Regions from separate parts of the Homo sapiens genome. Here regions 1, 2 and 4 are each linked to region 3. The links are contacts of gene promoters, found by promoter capture Hi-C in blood cells and fetal thymus (Javierre and others, 2016). All regions are on one chromosome and are shown on one strand. The core of a region is centred on a gene start or on the middle of the fragment in contact, and the rest is flanking DNA. Distances in the headings are between cores, read along the strand shown.

Region 1 (5,758 bases), core at 2,780-5,279, 170 kb before region 3:
AAAAAAAAAAAAGGAAACTGAGCATAGAGATTAAAAAACTTGTCCAAGGTCATACGGCTAGAAAGTGACAGAGCCCGGATTTGAACCCTGCCAGGATGCCTTGAGAATCTGTAATCTTAACCATTATTCTCTCCTACCTTTCTTTTTTCTGACCTTTTCCTCTCCAGGTTATTGTTCAAAACTACAACTCCATTTTGACACTTTCTCACTTGTACCGATCTTCAGACGCCCTCCTTCTTCATGAGAATGATGCCATCCATAAGATCTGTGCAAAACTGATGAATATCAAGCAGATCTCCTTTAGTGATATCAATCAAGTCCTCGCACATCAGCTGGGAAGTGTGTTCCAGCCTACTTATTCTGCAGAAAGCTCATTTCACTACAGACGAAATCCACTAGGTATTTGTCCCTCTATACGTTAATTATAGGAAAGCCTTATGTTCTGAAAGCTTCAAAGTTTATTCTTTCTGTCTCCTCCTCTGCCTGAAGATACACTTAAGTCTTGCTCATCTCAAAACCCTTTCTTCACATCTGCTAGTTCTCTGAACTGTCTTATTGAAAAGCTTTGAGAAGTTGCTAAAGGGCAGTGGGTATCCACTGCTCTTCAGGATTCTTTCTCTTCTTTTTTTTCTTTTTTTAATAGAAACCATGTTGAGATATAACTCACCTAACATGCAATTCACCCATTTAAAGTGTGCAAGTCAATGATTTTTTTTTTTTTTTTGAGACAGAGTCTCACTCTGTTGCCCAGGCTGGAGTGCAGTGGTACGATCTTGACTCACTGCAACCTCTGCCTCCTGGGTTCAAGCAATTTTCCTATTTCAGCCTCCTGAGTAGCTGGGACTACACTACACTATAGGCACGTGCTACCATGCCCAGCTGATTTTTGTATTTTTAGTAGAGACGGAGTTTCACCATGTTGGCCAGGCTGGTCTCAAATGATCCACCCGCCTCGGCCTTCCAAAGTGTTGGGATTACAGGCGTGAGCCACCGCACCCGGCCCTAGCCTTTTCTTAAGTACAGCAGCCAGACTGAACTCTGGCTTTGCAGTTTTTAAAAGCATAAGTCAGATCCTGTTGCTCCCCTTTTCAGAACCTTCCTGAGGTTTCCCATCTCATCCAGAGTTGTCAATGTGCGCGTCAGCATTGTGTTTGGTGATTGGGAATTCAAAGAGGTCCGAGTCTGCCATGTGGCATGACTTTCCGTAGTTGTGCTCTGACAGAGAAGGTGAGGAGCAGGGTTGGCCGAAGACTGGGATTTTGCCAGAAAGAGGAAGACTGATTGATTGAAAGGCAGGTGCTCCATGGATTAAAGTCTCAAGGAGGTTTAAGAATGGTCAAGGTGGCCAGGCGTGGTGGCTCACGCCTGTATCCCAGCACGTTGGGAGGCTGAGGAGGGTGGATCACCTGAGGTCAGAAGTTTGAGACCAGCCTGGCCAATACGGTGAAACCCCAGCTCTACAGAAAATACAAAAATTAGCCAGGCATGGTGGTGGGTACCTGTAATCCCAGCTACTCAGAAGACAGGCAGGAGAATTGCTTGAACCCATAAGGCAGACGTTGCAGTCAGCTAAGATTGCACCACTGCACTCCTGCCTGGGCGACAGCGAGACTCCATTTAAAAAAAAAAAAAAGAATGGTTAAGGTAAGAGTAGCTGAACAAGAAAGCTGGAAGGGAGAACAGATTGCAACAATTAGTGATTCATGCATTGGCCGGGCACCATGGCTCACTTCTGTAATCCCAGTGCTTTAGGAGGCCAGGGTGGGAAGATCGCTTGAGGCCAGGAGTTCGAAGCCAGCCTGAGCAGCATAGCAAGACCTCATCTCTACTAAGAATTTAAAAAGTGGCCGGGTGTGGTGGCTCATGCCTGTAATCCCAGCACTTTGGGAGGCCAAGACGGACAGATCACCTGAGGTTGGGAGTTCGAGACTAGCCTAAGTAACATGGCGAAACACTGTCTCTACTAAAAAAAATACAAAATTAGCCAGGCATGGTGGCACATGCCTGTAATCCCAGCTACTTGGGAGGCAGAGGCAGGAGAATTGCTTGAACCTGGGAGGCAGAGGTTGCAGTGAGCTGAGGTCATGCAATGCACTCCAGCCTGAGCAATAAGAGCGAAACTCCATCTCAAAAAAAAAAAAACAAAAAAAAAACAAACAGTTAGGCATGGTGGTGTGCACCTATAATCTCAGCTACTAGGGAAGCTGAAGTGGGGCTATTGCTTAAGCCTGGGAGTTCGAGGTTGCAGAGCTTTGATTGCGCCACTGCACACCAGTTTGGACAACAGAACAAAACACTGTCTAAAAAGAAAAAAAAAAGAATTCATGCCTTAGTGCTCATGAATTATTTTCTGACTATTCTATATTTACTTGTGCTATGCAATAGAATTCAACTCTAGGTATTTTACAGAAAAGAATTCTACATTTAGAGGACACTCCATTAGCACAAGCCCGCCTGTGTAGCATCTTATAGATGTTTGTGTCAAAATTTGTTCTTTTCTTTAGGATGTACATTATGAGTTTGTACTCAGTGTTATAAAGTTTGTTTCATATTATGGTAATATATTTTTCCCTATCCTCAAGGTATTTTCTATAAACATATGAGACAGCTGTAAATGTAAAGGAAAGTACCCTTTCTCCTTAATTCTATTTCATTGTAAATACAAGTTTCTAAAGATAGGCACATTCCTATCTTAAGGAATATCTAATCTTGTCTTCTTTCCAAATAGAGTTTCATGTTAACTTTTTTTTTTTTTTGAGACAGAGTCTTGCTTTGTCGCCCAGGCTGGAGTGCGATGCACTGCAACCTCTGTCTGCCGGGTTCAAGCGATTCTCCCGCCTCAGCCTCCCAAGTAGCTGGGATTACAGGTGCCTGCCACAACGCCTGGCTAATTTTCATATTTTTAATAGAAACAGTGTTTCTATTAAGACCAAGACCATGTTGGCCAGGCTGGTCTTAAACTCCTGACCTCATGATCTGCCCACCTAGGCCTCCGAAAGTGCTGGGATTACAGGCGTGAGCCACCGTGCCTGGCTTATATTAACTTTCATGTTAACAGGGTTTGATTATCACCTAACCAGATACGGTATGTAAAAATCTAGTAACATTTCTAAAAGAGTATTTAGTAGGGTGGGTGCGGTGGCTCACACCTGTAATCCCAGTACTTTGGGAGGCCAAGGCAGGCAGATCATGAGATCAGGGGATCGAGACCATCCTGGCCACCATGGTGAAACCTCATCTCTACTAAAGTACAAAAAGTTAGCTGGGCTTGGTGGTACGTGCCTGTAGTCTCAGCTACTCAGGAGGCTGAGACGGGAATCGCTTGATCGTGGGAGGCAGAGGTTGCAGTGAGCCGAGATCACGCCACTGCACTCCTCCAGCCTGGCGACAGAACAAGACTCCATCCCAAAAAAAAAAAAAAAAAAAAAGAATATAACAATATTTAGTGAACATAGAATGACAAGAAAAGCATATCAGTTCTCATGTTTACTTTGTTTGCCTGGAGTTTACCTAAATATTTCATTCACATTTCCAGTTATTCAGCTTCTAAATTGTAGTTTGCTTTTTGGCAAAGTGTATTTTCTCACTCATGCTCAAGTCAGTGCTAAAATGAAGCAAAGAGGTGGTGTGTAATAGACATTGTCTCTGAAATTGTATTTATATTAAAGATTAAATAATTCTGGTCTGAGAAGAGAAAAAACATTTGGCCCAGAAAACCTTCAAATCATGGTTATATATAGACTATTGGCAACAATGTAGAATAAAAAAAAATTAGTTCAGATTTTTTTTTCTTTACAGGAGACTTAATGGAGCATTTAGTTCCCCATCCTGAATTCAAGATGCTGAGTGTTCGTAACATTCCTCACATGTCTGAGAATTCATTGGCATACACCACATTTACTTGGGCTGGCCTCCTCAAGCATTTGAGACAGATGCTCATTTCTAATGCAAAGATGGAAGAAGGTAAAGAGTAGTCCAAAAATATGCAGCCCACAAGCTGGAAAAAATGTCTGTCCTGGAGTCTCAATATAAACTGGCTTGGACCAGTTTAAATAATGGTCCCTTTTTCTGGCTAGAGAGACTCCGGCAGAAACTCACCAGGACATCTTAGGAGGGTTTCTTAATCACTTCACAGTTTCATTACCAAAAGACATTTCAAATGAGTGCCAGATTTTTTTTAAATTTTTATTTTAATCAAATAAGTGAACATAGTTTTAAAAATCAAGTAGCCAAAACTCATTTAAATATATACTTAAATCCATACATTGCACTGTATTTAAATTATATCTCAATTTTTTTTTTTTTTTTTTTTTGAGACTGAGTCTTGCTCTGTCGCCCAGGCTGGAGTGCAGTGGCGTGATCTCAGCTCACTGCAACCTCCGCCTCCCGGGTTCACACCATTCTCCTGCCTCAGCCTGCCGAGTAGCTGGGACTACAGGCGCCTGCCACCACGCCCGGCTAATTTTTTGTATTTTTAGTAGAGACGGGGTTTCACCGTGTTAGCCAGGATGGTCTCAATCTCCTGACCTCGTGATCCACCCGTCTTGGCCTCCCAAAGTGCTGGGATTACAAGAGTGAGCCACCGTGCCCGGCCAATTATATCTCAGTATTTTATTTTTTATTTATTTTATTTTTTTGAGATGGAATCTCGCTCTGTCACCCAGGCTGGAGTGCAGTGGCGCGATCTCGGCTCACTGCAACCTCTGCCTCCCGGATTCAAGCAGTTCTTCTGCCTCAGCCTCCCAAGGAGCTGGGATTACAGGCGTGTGCTACCATGCCTGGCTAATTTTTTTGTATTTTTAGTAGAGATGAGGTTTCACCATATTGGCCAGGCTGGTCTCGAACTCCTGACCTTGTGATCCACCCACCTCGACCTCCCAAAGTGCTGGGATTACAGGTATGAGCCACTGCGCCCGGCCTATATCTCAGTTTTTTAAAAGGTCAAGTAATGGGCCAGGTATGGTGGCTCATACCTATAATCCTAGCACTTTGGGAGGCCAAGGCAGGAGAAGCGCTTGAGCCCAGGAGTTCGAGACCAGTCTGGGCAACATGGCAAAACCCCATCTCTACAAGAAATATAAAAAATTATCTGGACATGGTGACATGGGCCTGTATTCCCAGCAACTTAGGAGGCTGAGGTGGGAGGATCACCTGAGCCCAGGAGGTCAAGGCTGCAGTGAGCTGTGATCACACAACTGCACTTCAGCCTGGGTGACAGAGTGAGACCCTTTCTCAAAAAAAAAACAACAACAAAAAACAACTTAAGTAATGTCTGGTATGAATTTATGACAAGGAAAAACAGCAATCCTACACCTCCCCATTACACAGATGAAACTACTTTCAACGTCTAGCTATTTCATCTACAATTTGCCTCCATAGTTATAAATGTCTTACTTATATTGTTATCTCTTGCATTCCTAGTGTGAAAATTGAGAATTGGCCTGGGCGCAGTAGCTCACGCCTGTAATCCCAGCACTTTGGGAGGTTGAGGTGGGTGGATCACCTGAGGTCAGGAGTTCGAGACCAGCCTGGGCAACATGGCGAAACCCCTTCTTTACTAAAAAATACAAAAAAATTAGCCGGGCGTGGTGGCAGTCGCCTGTAATTCCTGGGAAGCTGAGGCAGGAGAATTGCTTGAACCCGGGAGGCAGAGGTTACAGTGAGCTATGATAGTGCCATTGCATTCCAGCCTGGGTGATAACAGTGAAACTCCATCTCAAAAAAAAAAAAAATTGAGAATTGAATCATCTTACACCCC
Region 2 (5,258 bases), core at 73-2,572, 210 kb before region 3:
AAAAACAGGGAGATCATCTACAAGTCTGTGTAAGGAACAGACAGACCAAAAAGGCTCCCATCTCCATACTAAGTCGAAGAACTAACCCTAGGAGAGTTAAATTCCCCGGGACAAAAAAAAAAAGTGAAAGATTAGATCCACAGAGTAAAGTACTAATGTAAAAACTCGAGTTTAGTGAAAGTCCGCGTGTTGAGAGGTAAGATCTCCATCTTCTCTCACTCAGCTCCAGAATGCTTTTTCCAGGCAAATGAATGGCAGAACTTTCTTAGCACCAACTGATCCTCCCCAGAAAAAAAAAGATCTACAGACAATATTTACTTATTTATTTATTTGAGATGGAGTCTCGCTCTTGTTGTCCAAGCTAGAGCACAATGGTGCAATCTTGGCTCACTGCAACCTCCACCTCCCAGGCTCAAGCGATTCTCCTGCCTCAGCGCCCCCAAACCAGCTGGCCAGGCTGGTTTTGAACTCCTGACCTCAGGTGATCAACCTGCCTCAGCCTCCGAAAGTGCTGGGATTACAGGCGTGAGCCACCACACCCAGCCCTACAGACACTATTATTTGAAGTTGTTGATCAAGTGCCAGCTAACCACTTGACTACCCTGCAGAGAAGCTTACACACACAGAACTTCTGATCAGCTTTTCAGAGTTCTACTCTTAAATATGAATAATCAGGCCAGGCGCAGTGGATGGGTTATTGAGGCCTAGGTGGACAGATCACTTGAGGTCAGGAGTTCGAGATCAGGCTGACAACATGGCGAAACCCTGTCACTACTAAAAATGCAAAAATTAGCCAGGCAGGGTGGCACATGCCTGTTATCCCAGCTACTTGGGTGGCTGAGGCACAAGAATCGCTTGAACCCAGGAGGTGGAAATTGCAGTGAGCCGAGACTGTGCCACTGCACTCCAGCCTAGACGACAGAGCAAGACTCCAACTCAAAAAAAAAAAAAAAAAAAAGAATAATCAGTGAATGACACCAGACATCTAAAGAAGGCCTCTAACATGGAACAAAGTGACTAAAACTGACTAAATCAAAGTCAAAGAAAACAGAAAGTCAAAAAAGAACATGCGTAAAACAAAAGAACATTTCAAATAATTATAATTAAACTCTCAGAGAGGCTGGGCGTGGTGGCTCACACCTGTAATCCCAGCACTTTGGGATGCCGAGGTGGACGTTTTGCCTGAGGTCAGGAGTTCAAGACCAGTCTGGCCAACATGATGAAACCCGATATCTGCTAAAAATACAAAAATTAGCCAGGTGTGGTAGCGGGCACCTGTAATCCCAGCTACTCAGGAGGCTGAGGCAGGAGAATCGCTTGAACGCAGGAGGCAGGGGTTGCAGTGAGCCAAGATCGCACCACTGCACTCAAACCTGCACGACAGAGTGAGACTCTTGTCTCAAAAAAATAATAATAAACATTAAAAAAAAATAAAACTCTCAGAGGGGTAAGAGAAGATATTATACTCATTAAACAGGTTGCTATAAAACAAAAACAACAGAAAGAATTCTGGAGAATCACAAATACAACAGCTTTAAAAAAAAATTTAGTCAAATGGCTGGGCACAGTGGCTTACGCCTGTAATCCCAGCACTTCAGGAGGCCAAGGCGGGCGGATCACCTAAGTCAGGAGTTCGAAACCAGCCTGACCAACATGGAGGAACCCTGTCTCTTCTAAAAATACAAAATTAGCCGGGCATGGTGGCACATGCCTGTAATCCCAGCTACTCGGGAGGCTGAGGCAGGGGAATCGCTTGAACCCAGGAGGCGGAGGTTGCGGTGAGCCAAGATTGCGCCATTGCACTCCAGCCTGGGCAACAAGAGCAAAACTCCATCTCAAAAAAAAATTGAGTAGAAGAAAGTAAACAAGACAAAGAAATGGAAACGTGGAAAAGATAAGAAAAATTAGATGATCGGTCCAGGAGATCCAACATCCAACTAATTGCAATTCCAAGAAGAGAAAACAGTGGGAAGGAAATTACCAAATAAATCACATAAGAAAATTTCCTAGAACTGAAAGACTAAAGCTTTAAGATTAAAAGAATAAAAATAGGCTGGGCACAGTGGCACATGCCTGTAATCCCAACACTTTGGGAGCCAAAACAGAACAACTGCTTGAGGCCAGGAGTTCCAGGCCAGCCGGGGAAACACAGGAAGACCTTGTCTCTACGAAACATTTTAAAAATGAACTGGGCGTGGTGGCATGCATCTGCAGTCCTAGCTACTCAGAAGTTGTGGCAGGAGGATCGCTTGAGCCCAGGAGTTACAGGTTACAGTGAAGTATGATCACACCACCACACTCCAGCCTGGGAAACAGAGTGAGACCCTGTCTCTTAAAAATAAATAAATTAATTAATTTAATTAAATAGGCCGGGCGCAGTGGGCCATACCTGTAATCCAATCCCAGCACTTTGGGTGGCCGAGGCGGGTGGATCACTTGAGCCCAGGAGTTCAACACCAGCCTGGGCAACATGGTGAGTGCCCATCTCTACATTTTTTTTTATTAGCCAGGCCTGGTGGTGCGTGTCTGTGGTCCCAGCTACTCAGGAGACTGAGGTGGGAGGATAGCTTGAGCCCAGGAATTTGAGGTTGCACTGAGCTATAATTGTGTCACCGCACTCCTGTCTAGGTGACAGGGCGAGACCCTATCTCAAAAACTAACTAAATAAAAATAATAATCAAAGTCAAAGCAACACACATCACTATAAAAACTTAGATCAGAAATAAAGAGAAAATCTTAAATATTTCCACAGAAAAAATAGGCCATGTGTAAACGACTGGGAATCAGAATGCCAAAGCACTTCAACAGAAACTCTCAAGAATAGAAGAAAACTGAGCAAAATTCTAAGTGAAAATAATTTTCAACTCCAATAACATAAACAATCAAGTAAATAAAAATGTAAAGAAATTCTCAAATATGCAATATGGATATATTTTTATTATAAATGTATCTTTATATACCTTGTCTGAGGGAGCCACTAGTATAGTGTCACCAAAACAAGGACATAAACTAAGAAAAAGGGAAAAAATGAAGATATGGGATCCAGGAAACAAAAGATCCAACACTGAAGGAGCCAAGAGGATTCCAGGGTTGTGGTGAAGAAAGAGTCCAGTCATAACAGTTGTGACTAAAGAGCTACCACTCCAGATGGGAACAGGTGGATAGAAAGTTCCTAAGATATGCCTCTGGGAAATAAATGGAACTGATAGATTATCTTATAAGCCTGATCAAAGAACATTAGACTGAAAGGTGTTTTACAAAGTTGTTGGAAGACATCAGAGGACAATAGTAGATTCAAAGAAAGCAAAACAAAATGAGAGGATGAGGATAAAGGAGGGTGAAGTAAACAAGAAACAAATCCTTAACTCGCATAAAAGAAAGTTAATACTGCCAGGCTCGGTGGCTCACGCCTGTAATCCCAACACTTTGGGAGGTCAAGGCGGGCCGATCCCCCGAGGTCAGGAGTTCGACACCAGCATGCCAATATGGCGAAACCGCATCTCTACTAAAAATACAAAAATTAGCCGGGTGTGGTGGTGGGCGCCTGTAATCCCAGACACTCAGGAAGCTGAAGCAGAGGAATCGCTTTAACCTGGGAGGTGGAGGTTGCAGTGAGCTGAGATCACGCCACTGCACTCCAGCCTGGGCAACAGAGTGAGGCTCCGTCTAAAAAAAAAAATTGAAAACTGCTGAATTAAAAAGATAGCAGTTGGCTGGGCATGGTGGCTCATGCCTGTAATCCCAGCACTTTGGGAGGCCAAGGCGGGCAGATCACCTGAGTTCGAGACCAGCCTAACCAACATGGAGAAACCCCATCTCTACTAAAAATACAAAATTAGCCGGGCGTGGTGGCACATGCCTGTAATCCCAGCTACTAGGGAGGCTGAGGCAGGAGAATCACTTGAACCTGGGAGGCGGAGGTTGTGGTGAGCCGAGATCACTCCACTGCACTCCAGCCTGGGCAACAAGAGCAAAACTCTGTCACAATAAAAAAAAAAAAAAAAAAAAAAAAGATAGCAGTAGGCCAGGCGCAGTGGCTCGTGCCTGTAATCCCAGCAGTTTGGGAGGCCGAGGCAGATGGATCACCTGAGGTCAGGAGTTCGAGACCAGCCTGGCCAATATGGTGAAACCCCGTCTACACTAAAAATCCAAAAATTAGCCAGGCGTGGTGGTAGGCGCCTGTAATCCCAGCTATTAGGGAGGCTAGGGCAGGAGAATCACTTGAACCTGGGAGACAGAGGTTGCAGTGAGCTGAGATTGTACAACTGCACTCCAGCCTGGACAACAGAGTGAGAGTTCATCTCAAAAAAAAAGAGATGGCAGTACATGCTTATTACTTAGAAATAAGGAGATCAGAAACAGTGAAGAGTTACCTCAGCAAAGAATTGCAAGAGCTCTCTTTTCCACACTCACCAAGCAGAAATAAAAATAGGAATAACAGTAATGAAACATACCTCACATTCTAAAAAGTATTGCAACTGTGTTAGAAATACATTTTTTGCCGGGTGCGGTGGCTCATGCCTGTAATCCCTGCACTTTGGGATGCCGAGGCAGGTGGATCACTGAGGTCAGGAGATCAAGACCATCCTGGCCAATATGGTGAAACCCCGTTTCTATCAAAAATACAAAAAAGTAGCTGGGCGTGGCAGCATGCACCTGTAGTCCCAGCTACTCGGGAGGCTGAGGCAGGAGAATTACCTGAACCCGGGAGGTGGAGGTTGCAGTGAGCCGACATCGCACCACCGCACTCCAGCCTGGGCGACAGAGCGCGACTACGTCTCAAAAAAAAAAAAAAGAAAAGAAAATAAATACATTTTTTCTGTAAGAGACTGGGTCTTACTACATTGCTCAGGCTACCCTTGAACTCCTAAGTTCAAGCAATCCTCCTGACTCAGTCTCCCAAGTAGCTGGGACCACAGGTGTGCACCACTGTACCTGGCTTGAGATACATTTTTTTGACTGCAAATTTTAGGCCAAAATGTTACAACAATTAAAAATATGATATGATTGCTTCCCAGCCTTTTGGCTGAGATCAAGTGTAAAAATATGGTGTGTGAGGACTAAAAAGGGGGAGTGGAAATCACCTTTTTAAGCACCTTCATGGCAAATATTTTCCCAGTATTTGCTCCTGTTACTTTTCGTACTTGAAAAACCTGGATTAAAAAAAAGTGTGTGTTATTCAAAGGCAAACTATGTCAGGCATACTCCCTTAATTCCTAGTTATAAGAAACATATGCCACAGCAGTTTATATTATAAA
Region 3 (5,985 bases), core at 2,668-5,167:
CTATCATCTCCGAGAAAGACTAAAGAGACTAAAAAGTTTGTTAAATCAATGGAACCAAAAAAAAAGAGTACCCAACAATGCAAAGAATTAACTCTTCTACAATGGCTATTTACCCAGAATAAAATAACTAGAGAAATGGCTCTATATATAATAGATAATTAACATAACAAAATATTAAAATTACAAACAGCTTGGGGAGGTTTTTTTTTTTGTAAGAGCAAATAATACAGTTCTCTCCTACTGCTTTTCTTTTATTTTCTTCTCTTTTTTTTTTGAGATGGAGTCTCGCTCTGTTGTCCAGGCTGGAGTGCAGTGGCGCGATCTCGGCTCACTGCAACCTCCGCCTCCCGGGTTCAAACGATTCTCATGCCTCAGCCTCCTGAGTAGCTGGGATTACAGGCGTCTGCCACCACACCCAGCTAATTTTTTTGTATTTTTTGTAGACACCGGGTTTCACCATGTTAGACAGGCTAGTCTCAAACTCCTGATCTCAGGTGATCTTCCCGCCTCGGCCTCCCAAAGTGCTGGGATTACAGGCGTGAGCCACGGCGCCTGGCCAGTTCTCTCCTACTCTTTAGCAACAACATTCACAGTAGACACGTGTTAAGGCTCCTCCGTCATTTCCACTTGCCAGAAAGATAACTCAACACATGACAGTCATGAAGCATGAACTCAGACAAACTATTCTGAAGAATATAACTGATTTTCTTTCCTTAATCTATTACACTTCAAATCTAGCCAAGCACAGTTTTTGTTATGCTACAATTTATAAGACTAAACTAGCTAAAGAGGGAAAAAAAGTTTGTAAATAAGGCTTATGTGCGTATGTGTGTATTTACGTGTGTATGTGGATAGATCCCTTTAATACCTAAGAGTAATTATTTTCATGTGAACTTGGAAATATTACCAAACCATAATAAGATGCCTGGATACAACCTTGTTAGAACAGAAAGAACACTTGAGACCTTACAGTTCAGGTTCTAGCACTACCTAAGCCAGATGACCTCAAGCAAGCCAATTACTAATTACTGATTGTTTCTGAGCCTTAATTTTCTCCTCTGTTAAATGGGAATCTACTTATACATTCACAGAGATTCCTTCTAATTCTAAATATTGGTTTCAGTGAAATAATAATGTTTCTTTTTTTTTTGAGACGGAGTCTGGCTCTGTCTCCCAGGCTGGAGTGCAGTGGCGCAATCTCGGCTCACTGCAAGCTCCGCCTCCTGGGTTCGCGCCATTCTCCTGCCTCAGCCTCCGGAGTAGCTGGGATTACAGGCGCCTGCCACCACGCCCGGCTAATTTTTTGTATTTTTAGTAGAGACAGGGTTTCACTGTATTAGCCAGGATTGTCTCGATCGCCTGACCTCGTGATCCGCCCAACTCGGCCTCCCAAAGTGCTGGGATTACAAGCGTGAACCACCGCGCCCGGCCCAATAATAAGGTTTCTTATTTAATGTAAGTAAGATAGGACTACTTCTACTCTTTAGTTAACTATACGTAGGCAAAAAACTTCAGCTTTTTCTGCACTTGGAAGTTCTGAAGTGACAATACATGACGACCAAAAAGGATCAGATTTAAACTCCCGAATGCAAAACTATACTCATTTTCCAGGAACCTATTTATTAACCATGGTGACTAATTCAATGGATCACGGTATCAAACTATTCTTTGCTAACTTTCAAAGGTGGGGCAAAGATCATCTCAGAAAAGTATGTGATAATATTTTCAGATAATGATGCAAAGTAACAGTATTCTACACTGACATATCTCCAGTTCTAAGAGTAAAGTGATACCATATTTTCATATTTAATAATTTCATGTTTACTAGCTCATTTAATCTTTGTGACAGTTGTATGAAAGAAAGTGAGCAGAATTTTTATCAACACAATCTAGACCAGCTCAGAATGTTAGGTAACCTATCAGCCATTACTTAACAAGTGTTGGAGCCCAGACTTCAATCCAGGTCTTCTGATTTAAAGTTTAATAGTTACCAAAATCCTAAAAAGTGGTGATTCAAGCCAAAAGCGAGAAGTTGGAAAAGTGAGAAAAACTGGATAATCAGTCCTTCAATTGAACATAAAGAAGATAAGATCAGATTTGGCAGTTATATAATCAAGAAGCAAATTTACCGAATGTTAAACTAATGATACATCTATCATAATTCCATATCTCAAATTTTGTCACCTTGTTTCAAAGCCAAGCGTGAACAAATTTTCAAACTCAAAATAAGAAAAATATGTAAACTGACAAACTGATTTAACTAGCTATAGGTAAACTGGTAAAAGGCATCATGGTTCTATGTATATTTTCTTCTGGAATGTGACTCATAGAAATTAAACTGTATTAATCAATTGTAATCAAGTAGGATATATCCCTCAAAGGAAAAAAGTAACCTTCAGTGCCTTAAGATAATGTAGGCAAAGTAGTAAAATATAAAATTTCTACTCGAGAGAGTCACTTCATACCTACACAAATCAGTCACATTTGTCTAGGTACCACCATCCCTCTTCCACAGTAAAAACATAAGCTACAATGCATACAATGATGCCTAGTAAGTAAGTTTCTTCCTTTCATCATCTATGCTAAGAATACACAACTAAAATCAGAGCTAATGACAATACAATTACTAGGTAGTAGCAACTGGAATATTAAATTCTATCATGACAACACCAGAAACACTTGTACAAGCTTCTTCAAATGATCAATGTAATCTGTCCACAAAAATCTCTGACAAGCCCCAAAGTAGAAATGAAAGACGTTAACATTAGGATAAGGAGCGATGCTGCCAAAACACATCAACAGTGGCCAGTCTACGTGTATTATTAGATTTTTACATGGAGTTGCAGGTAAATAAAAGATGATTGTGTAAAATCTTCTGGAGGTCATAAGTAATCTAGCAGTGTGACACAGGGCCACATATGGTTTCTGGAATTTTAGAGATTAAGTCGACCTTCACGTTTTACTGCAAATACCTCCACTGTAATAAGATATAGAGGTCGGGGTTCAGGGGTTTGGAAAGGCAGACAACTCTTTTTCATTAAAGCAGTGAAAAATCTGAGAAGTTCCTCTCCAAGGGCTCTGCGGAGCGAAGGCCCATTCCCTTGGCTACCCTGTACCACCAGAGCTTTAGATGGCACTTGCACGCCTGGATTTCGTTTAGGAGCGAATACATCTAGCATCATGCGCCAGAGGTTCGGGAGAGCAAAAACCAAACTGACAGATCCTGAGAAATAGCTCAGTCATCAGCAGGGAAGACCTTCTCCACTTACTCCAAGGTCCTGGACATCCCGGGACTAAGAGGTTCTCTAAAGAAGCCTAGCAAGGCTTCCAAGTACGCGGAGAGGAGAACGAACAGCCCGGTGTCTGGGTTCAATGTCCGGGTGACCAACCATGAGAAGGTGTCCCAAATAACCTGGCTACCGCCAGCGTGAGACATCCAGGGTGAGACATCCAGTCAGCAGCGTCCTAAAACACTGCTGGAAGTCGGAATCACAGTGCCCCAGATCCGCAATGCCTAAGTGGGAGAGCTCCGGAAGACGCCAAGCTCTGAGGACAGCCTCAGGCTTCGGTCCCCAATTCCCTGAGTTAGTTTACCTACCCGCTCCGACCCCGGCTGCTCCGGATCTCAGGATCCTGGAAGCTGCTCCTTACGGACTCTCACACCCGCCGCTGGGCTCCAGACAACCGGAACCCGCTCACGTCACTTCCGGTCCGGTCCCTCTGCCCCCTGAGACAGCCTCCAGAAGGGATACGTTCCTCCCTCCTTTCGGCGAGCTCGGTTGATCCTCGCGGGATTTCAGTTAGGCTCTTAGTGCGGGCCCTGTGGGTGTGGCAAGAGGAAGAATGACTGCTCGCTTTGTGATTCTTGATCCGGAACTTGTCACCCAGGAACCCCGGAAGAGGTAGCTCACGCGATAGAAACGTGTTCGCTGCCCAGAAGAAGGGAAGGCGCGAGTGAGGAAAGGAGGTACTGTAGGTAGGTTGGTTGGCTCCTTACAGGGCGAAGGAGACCAATATCATTATTCATTTTCTCGCCAGTAGGAACGTTTCTTTTCACCTCGTTGCATTACCCACCTTCTTCATTTTCTCCTTTATAAACTGTCTTCCGCCCAGGGGCCGCTGAGCCCTCTGTTCCTGTTCTGCGAACCGTCCTTTGGAGGAAAGGAACAGGCTGCTGGGGAGGGGAAGACTCAGAATTTCTAGTTCCCAGCAAAGCCTCCAGGCAGGCAGTATCGATGCGCTCTCTCCGAAATTGATAAAATAGCGAGCAGGCCTCATACCCTCAGCTGGGCACTTATGAATATCCCCAGCGTTTCGAGCTGTCGAGCTCTGCGTGGAAAGAATTGGTTTCTAAGAATATAGTCGAAAATTTGGGGCCGGGCGCGGTGGCTGACGCCTGTAATCCCAGCACTTTGGGAGGCTGATGTGGGCGGATCACCTGAGGTCAGAAGTTCGAGACCATCCTGGCCAACATGGCGAAAACCCATCTATACTAAAAATACAAAAATTAGCCGGCGTGGTGGCGCGTGCCTGTAATCCCAGCTACTCGGGAGGCTGAGGCAGGAGAATGACTTGAACTCGGGAGGCGGAGGTTGCAGTGAGCCGATATCGCTCCATTGCTCTCCAGCCTGGGCGACAGAGTGAGACTTCGTCTCAGAAAAAAAAAAAAAAGAAAGAAAAAATTTCCCCCCTTTTTCACACAAAGAGATTAACTAGAGAGGTATTAATCCTTACTGACATACCCCAGGCACCATACTAGACTCTGGGAATATGTTATACAGGGAAAGTGGGGCAGTGGCTTAAGGGTCAGAGAAGATTTGGGAAAGGTTTGTTTGTTTTTTTCGGTTGTAAACTGCAGACCCGGCGCGGTGGCTCAGCCTGTAATCCAACACTTTGGGAGGCTGAGACAGGAGGATTGCTTGAGCCCAGGAGTTTGAGAACAGCCTGGGCCACATAGGGGGCCACATAGTGAGACCCTGTCTCTTAAAAAAAGATTAACGGGTGGAGCATGGTGCAGAAGGAGGTAATGGGATCAAGAGCACTACTGAAATGGGTTTACTGAGGCAGGGGAATTAGAAGGCACCAAGAAGAAGATTTTATAGGATGTACTTATTTTGTTCTGCTGTCATTGCCCAGAATTATTTATGAGACAAAGAATGGTTATTTGTTTTACCTTAGTCTTAGGCACTAGGCTTATTGATACGCTTGTCGTAAGTGTACAGAAAAAGAGACAGACATGTTGTTTTAGAGGAGTTAGATGATAATCTGATCAGATTAATATGAGATTAGAACATCCTAAAGAACAAAAATATGTGTTAATTTTAGCATTTTTATGATTAGACACTCCATTGAGATATGGGACATAATAAATAAACTTGGTAACTTTTGGAACTTTCACTGTCCTGTTTTTGATCTTATTGGGTTTTTTTTTTTTTTTGGAGACAGGGTTTTGCATTGTTGTCCAGCCTGGGGTGCAGTGGCACGATCATGGCTCACTGCAATTTCCACCTCCCAGCCTGAGGTGTCCTCCTACCTTATCCCCTGAGTAGCTGGGAGTATGGGCATGTGGCACCACATCTGGCTAATTATTTAAATTTTTTGTAAAGATGAGGTCTCACTGGGTTGCCCAGATTGGTTTTGAACTGGACTCGAGATGCTGCTGCCTCGACCTCAAGCAACTCCTTGAGGCCAGGAGTTCCAGACCAGCCTGGGCAACATAGCAAGACCAAGTCCATACAAAAATAAAAAATTTTTAAAAAATCAGGAGGGTGTGGTGGCATGCACCTGTAGTCCCATCTACTTGGAAGGCTGAGGTAGGAGAATTGCTTAAGCCCAGGAGTTTGAGGCTGTAGCGAGCTATGATCATGCCACTGAACTCTAGCCTGGGTGACAGAGGGAGACCCCTTCTCTTTAAAAAAAAATAAAGAAAAAGGCAACTTCTCTGTTTGATCCTCATATTTCTCATCTTTAAAATGAGGCTAATAT
Region 4 (5,838 bases), core at 3,019-5,518, 240 kb before region 3:
TACAGTTAGTAAACATATTTGAAAACAAGTATCAAGAGTATCACAAGCCATTTACAGTCTGAAATAATGCCTGTACATATCACCATAGCTTTTCGGGTTCTGTTTTTTCAGACATCACAAATTGTCAAAGAACAAGGATCTGCACTTTTTAAGTATAATTTCTGCCCTTAATTATTATTGTAGCTTCTAATTTACCAGCAACAGTCAAAGTTCTCAGTAGGCTGCTGCAATAAGGGAGGAGGGGGAAGAGGGAGTGATTTTTTTTTTAAAGGCTTTCTGTCCAAAGATGAACTTTTATCGATTCTTTCAATTATTGCCACAATTGAAAAGGTGTATGTCCAATCATTTTTCATGGTTCTGTTTTTGCTTACTGTCATAGGATTTCATCCCATCTCATTTGAGTTGCAATTTCAAAAAGCAAAGCCTTGCTCTTTTCTGACTGAATTCAACATGCATAAAGAATTTTATGGCTTGGATCCTATGGCTCAAAAAGGTTTGAAAACATAGCAAGCAGCATCTATTTAAAAAAATCCTAGGGTTGCAAAATATTACAAATTGACTTTGCACACTCAGACTGAAGACATTATAAAAGACAAACAAAAAAGGTGATACAACTCAACTGCAACTGCATGATCATCTATTATACCAGTATGCACTGAAATATATTTTTATAAAGCTCTGCAGATATTAAACCCTTTCACCAGCTAAAGTCATGGAAATGCTCTCTTTAAGGCAGGAAATATTTAAGAAAGGTAAAGTTACCTTTATTTTTATTCTTTTAACCTGTAAATCATTTATGTAGATTTTGTTACAATTTCAAAAACATAGTGTCCTGTTAACATGTTTCCTAAATTAAGCCACTAAGTTTTCTTTACTGTGGAAGACATTCATCAAAAGGCCATCAAATATTTTTACAATCAAAAAATGTAGCCCAAGTATAGGAGAAAAAAAAATAGACCTTTTTTTCTTTTTAAAACTGTTGAGGAAAAAAATATAAGGAAGGTAGACAGCAGAAACAGTAGAAAGAAGTAAAACTGAAAATCTTACCAATTTGCTGTAAAGAGATTAGACAGAGAGTGGGCCACAGCAACACCCTCTTCCCCTGGATATCCCTATCTCCCTCACCTTGCCGACCACAGTATGTATTTTTTATCCTGACTCTCTTCTGTTGTTCTTCAGCCATGGGCTGAAGACATTTGGTGTCTTGAACCAAATACTGGTGTAAGAACAGGTGGCGATTTTTTTTTCCAGTGCAATGCAGGCCCGGGACAATGATGAAATGTAGGACATACAACTTATGCCCATTCCAAGGCTTCCAGTTAAGCTTAGCACATAGCAGTACTGCAAGTAGAAATGATTAAATAGATTCATTTTTTTTTTCTCATATTACAGACAGGTATTGCAGCTGGGTTACTGAAAATAAACCCCAGGTCCACCCCAATCCCTCAAACGAGCCACAGCTGTGGTTAACAATGATTCATTTGCATTTTATTATTTCACCAAGAGAAGAAACAGAAGTTGTCTGGCTTTCTTCACACCAACCAATAATTTCGCATTTTAAAGTTTGGGATGTTTTTCATAATGAGCTGAATCAAAAATCTATTTGAAAAATATATATTTATATAAAAAAAAGATTCAGGTTGTTTGCACGTAAAACATCAATTGGTAAGTTTCTTTTGTCTTTGCTTCCATTTTGCTGGAAAAAGTTTGACCAAGCTTGCATGCTAATTTGTCCTTAGTTGCAAGTATTATAGGCAATTTTGTACTTTGCCTAATGAAAGGATAACCCTTCTTCAACACAATCAGAACTCAACAGTGATTCAGAAGCAACATCCTACCCTTAATACTGTCAGTTTCGAGTCATCAACATGAAAATCCTTGATAAGGTTGAGAAGATGTCGCGAGGAATCAATTAATTGATGTGCCTAAGAGTTCAGCAATACTATTTTGCTTTAAGTTTTTTTTTGCACCATTGATTGATTTTTTAAAATCCACGTTTATTTTTCCTGTGTCTGAAGTGTTCTATGTAATGACATTGACTCTCTGAAACTGTCATTTTGAGTCGTTTCACCTTGCAGGATGCTCACACATCTCCCTCTCCACCTTTTTTGCCTTAAATTCATTAAAAGCATTGCTCTGTCATAGATTCATACGCAGGTGCTCTGGCCGTTTGGAGATCATGGGAAAAGCTTGTTTTTTGTATGGCCCAGAGTTCGGCTGTCGTATTGGAAGTGGTGCCGATGCTTCCCCACTCATTGTCACATCCATCTGCTCTATGCCACTTGTTTCCATTGGGTATTCCACAGGTGTCTGAGGATTTGCTGTGCTGGCCGAAGCACCTCTTCCCCAGAAATCCCCAGGAGAAAATTTGACTGGGCTTTAAGACAAGGAAGAGCTATCATTCATTTGCTTAAGGGTCATCTCAACAAGACATATTTCCTTTACGTTTAAAGGGAGTGGGGTAACATGACATTTATTTTCATTTAATTTTATTTTCACGTGGATTAGCACAAAGGCAAAAATTGAACCATCTCTCCCCCACCTAGATTAACTGCTAGAATTTCCTAACTGGTCTCTTTACCTCTACACCTGACCCCCAAAACCCTCAATGAGATATATATACATTTAAATGCGTATTATATATATCATTTTACTCTCCCCTGCTCAAAACAGCTTTCTATTGCATTTAAAATAAAATACTTTTCCAAACCTCTGCCCTTCTCCTCACTCACCACACACTCCAGGAACACTGATTTCCCTTTCACTTCCAGGAAAAGGGCAACTTTTCTCCTCCCTCAGGGTTTTTGCATTTGCTGTTCTTCTGCCTGCAACATTCTTATACCTCCTATTTTTGTAGGGCTGGCTCTTTCCGTTCACTGCTAGATGTTACTACACCAGGGAGGCCTTTCTCTGATCACTGTGAGTAGAAGCCCCCTTGTTTTTCCTCTGCTCTCTACCAGTACATTCTTTTTTTCCCCTTTTAAATTATAGCACTTTGCACTACTTGTAATTATATTTTTGTATATCCTTTGTCTATTGTGACTTTCCCACTAAATTGTAAGCTTCATCAGGACAGGGACAATTCCTGTATTATAGTACTATATAGATACACACACATAACATGCAGTATGTAGTGCTGGTGCTCTTGGTGCACAATAAATGCTGAGTGAATGGATAAAGAGGACATTTGCCAGTATGGCTGCTTACTTTTGGGAGGGAAGGTAAACCATATAACATCATAGATTAGTCAGACTAGTCCTTTGCAATGTAAGATATAGATGCTGTGCTTATGTCAACCAAAGAGAGTATGACAGTCTTTCATTTATATAACTTGGCATAAACTTCTTAAGCAAACACTCTTGTAGGTTGTTTAAAAACAAAAAAAAGTGAAAATAAGAGTGTGAAATACCTGACAGGTGTTCGTGGGCTGCCAATAAATCTTCGAGGTGATCGGATTTTTGGTTCAAAGGAAAACTTTTCTTTCACACTTTCAAGTACAGATGGAGCCACATATGTAAAACCCTGAAAGACAGTAACAGTGGACTACAGAATGGCATTTTGTCATGTATCTCAAGAGAATGGGGTTGTTCAGTCTGACATACCTACACAATGATGCACACCTAAAACCACCAATGTGTACACTCTCCCACGTCCTCAACCTCATTTTTAGACCCGTTAACTTCTTTCCAGCCATTTCGTGAGGCACACACTTCAAGAAAGCAGAATTCCATTGAGCCTGATATGCTAGCAAACAAAATTCTACCCTACTGACAGGAATAGAAAAAAAAACAGGAAAATTCAGGCTCCATATGAAGATGTTAAATACGCCCAGGCACGGGGGCTCACGCCTGTCATCCCAGCACTTTGGGAGGCCAAGGCGGGCAGACCACCTGAGGTCAGGAGTTAAAGACCAGCCTGGCCAATGTGGTGAAACACCGTCTCTACTAAAAATACAAAAATACACCACCATGCATGGTGGTGCACGCCTGTAATCCCAGCTACTCGGGAGGCTGAGGCAGGAGGATCACTTGAACCTGGTAGGTGGAGGTTGCAGTGAGCAGAGATCGCACCACTGCATTCTAGCCTGGGCAACAGAGTAAGACTCCATCTCAAAAATTAAAAAAAAAAAAAAAAAAGATGTTAAATACTAGGAGAAATGTAAAGAAACTTCTAGTGTTTCTAGCCACAGGCATATAAGCAATTAAGTTTATCACCCTAAAACAGTTTCTTATAATCAGACCAAAGTAAAAACAATTTTCTGACTTGGCATCAAAGTCAGATCTTGTGATCTTTCTGGTTTTACGCCAATGATTGGACAGAATTCGTTTTTTGTTTTGTTTTAAGAGATGGGGTATCCCTATATTGCCCAGGCTGGAGTGCAGTGGTGATAACATAGCTCACTGCAGCCTCAAACTCCTGGACCCAAGCTATTCTCCCACCTCAGCCCCTCAAGTAGCTGTGACTATATAGGCACGTGTGATCTCTGCCCAGCTAGAATTTGGTGTTTTCTTGATGAATAAGTATCAACATTTCAAAAACCTTCAGTTGTAATAGGCAAAAATGCAGTTTTGTTCATTTTAGTTCTCTCTTGGATCTTACTATTAGGCTACCAGCTGTCATTTCTCTAGCTGTCAATGTTCATTCTTTTAACCATCTTCACCTATCTTCTATTTATCAAAATCTATGAGTAAGCATTATGTGTTACAATAAATAAGACTCAGCAAAGCTCTGAGTGAAGTCCCAAAGAGTGAGGTGCAATTCTGAAGTGCATATGATTTGTGACAGTTATATGTGAACTTCAGAGAATAATTTTACAAACGTTCTGGTGGACTAAAGCTGTAACTACCAAGAGGTACAGGCTGTGCCTTAATCATCTTTGAATTTCCTCTAATTCTGTGATGGGGTCTTACAACAGGAATTAAAATATTTGTTGAAATGAGGTTGCTAGAACCACATTATCCAGATAAGTGGGATGTCACTATATGTGTGTGTGTATGTATGTGTGTATATATATATATGTGTATATATATATATATAATTTTTTTTTTTTTTTTGAGATGGATTCTAGCTCTGTCGCCCAGGCTGGAGTGCAGTGAGGGGCGTGATCTCAGCTCATTACAACCTCCTCCTCCCGGGTTCAAGCGATTCTCCTGCCTCAGCCTCCCGAGTAGCTGGGACTACAGCCATCATGCCTGGCTAATTTTTGTATTTTTAGTAGAGATGGGTTTTCACCATATTAGCCAGGCTGGTCTGGAACTCCTGACCTTGTGATCCGCCCACCTCAGACTCCCAAAGTGCTGGGATTACAGGCGTGAGCCACTGCACCTGACCTATTTTTTTTTATTAATGTTTAAAGAGATCCACTTTATGTAGAGAATTCTGGCTACAACCTAACAAATGAGTTGCTCTATTCATTAGCCAATTTAAGTAATTGTGAAAAGCTCAACAATACTTTAACTGGCAACGAAAGCTTCAATATCTCACTTTTACCACCACAACTTTGGATTTCTTGGCAGCTAAATAAAATGCTTCTATTTTGTGGGGGGAAAACTGTCACATAAGTTGAAATTCTGCAATGTCCAATTGAGGAAAAGGTCTCTATGTTAAATCAAAGGTATAAATTCCACATCTGTAGTACATGAGAGAAAAAAAATGCCAAAATTAAAGTGATTCATGCCCACTTCCCTAACTGAACCTAAGATTTTACTAACAGAGATGCCGTAACTTTGATCATGCACACATCAAACTTGAATTTAAAAACATGCATGCACTCACTCATCTTTTATCTCTTATGTAATACTGTAAGACTATATTTTGCCTATGTGCTCTATATTAATT

Evidence for each region. Contacts are between HindIII fragments. The CHiCAGO score rates a contact against its expected background, and 5 or more counts as called.
Region 1: a contact is called between a fragment that was not itself captured here and the fragment with the promoter of PTRH2 in region 3, in 8 of 17 cell types (activated CD4 T cells, monocytes, M2 macrophages and 5 more). The highest score is 13.5, in activated CD4 T cells.
Region 2: a fragment that was not itself captured here is called in contact with the fragment with the promoter of PTRH2 in region 3 in 1 of 17 cell types (activated CD4 T cells); the score reaches 9.1 in activated CD4 T cells.
Region 4: a contact is called between a fragment that was not itself captured here and the fragment with the promoter of PTRH2 in region 3, in 1 of 17 cell types (activated CD4 T cells). The highest score is 6.1, in activated CD4 T cells.

Annotation. Positions count from the first base shown.
Region 1 is chr17:59,872,744-59,878,501 of GRCh38, reverse strand. It overlaps TUBD1 (tubulin delta 1), which reads left to right. Exons shown (of 9, transcript NM_016261.4): 5 at 168-399; 6 at 3,799-3,963. Among named protein-coding and RNA genes, the nearest start is that of TUBD1, 17 kb to the left of the region's middle. The HindIII fragment of the contact is 6,927 bases long and covers 566-5,758 here.
Region 2 is chr17:59,914,530-59,919,787 of GRCh38, reverse strand. RPS6KB1 (ribosomal protein S6 kinase B1) reads right to left here. Exons shown (of 15, transcript NM_003161.4): 4 at 5,085-5,153. Among named protein-coding and RNA genes, the nearest start is that of RPS6KB1, 24 kb to the right of the region's middle. The HindIII fragment of the contact is 1,413 bases long and covers 616-2,028 here.
Region 3 is chr17:59,705,362-59,711,346 of GRCh38, reverse strand. It overlaps PTRH2 (peptidyl-tRNA hydrolase 2), which reads left to right and starts at 3,917. Exons shown (of 2, transcript NM_016077.5): 1 at 3,917-3,976. VMP1 (vacuole membrane protein 1) reads right to left here and starts at 3,693. Exons shown (of 12, transcript NM_030938.5): 1 at 3,599-3,693. RefSeq lists enhancers at 3,588-3,647, 3,448-4,103. The HindIII fragment of the contact is 5,892 bases long and covers 2,691-5,985 here.
Region 4 is chr17:59,943,090-59,948,927 of GRCh38, reverse strand. RPS6KB1 (ribosomal protein S6 kinase B1) reads right to left here. Exons shown (of 15, transcript NM_003161.4): 14 at 3,410-3,522; 15 at 1-2,377. The coding sequence ends at 2,140. Among named protein-coding and RNA genes, the nearest start is that of RNFT1, 19 kb to the left of the region's middle. The HindIII fragment of the contact is 2,408 bases long and covers 3,065-5,472 here.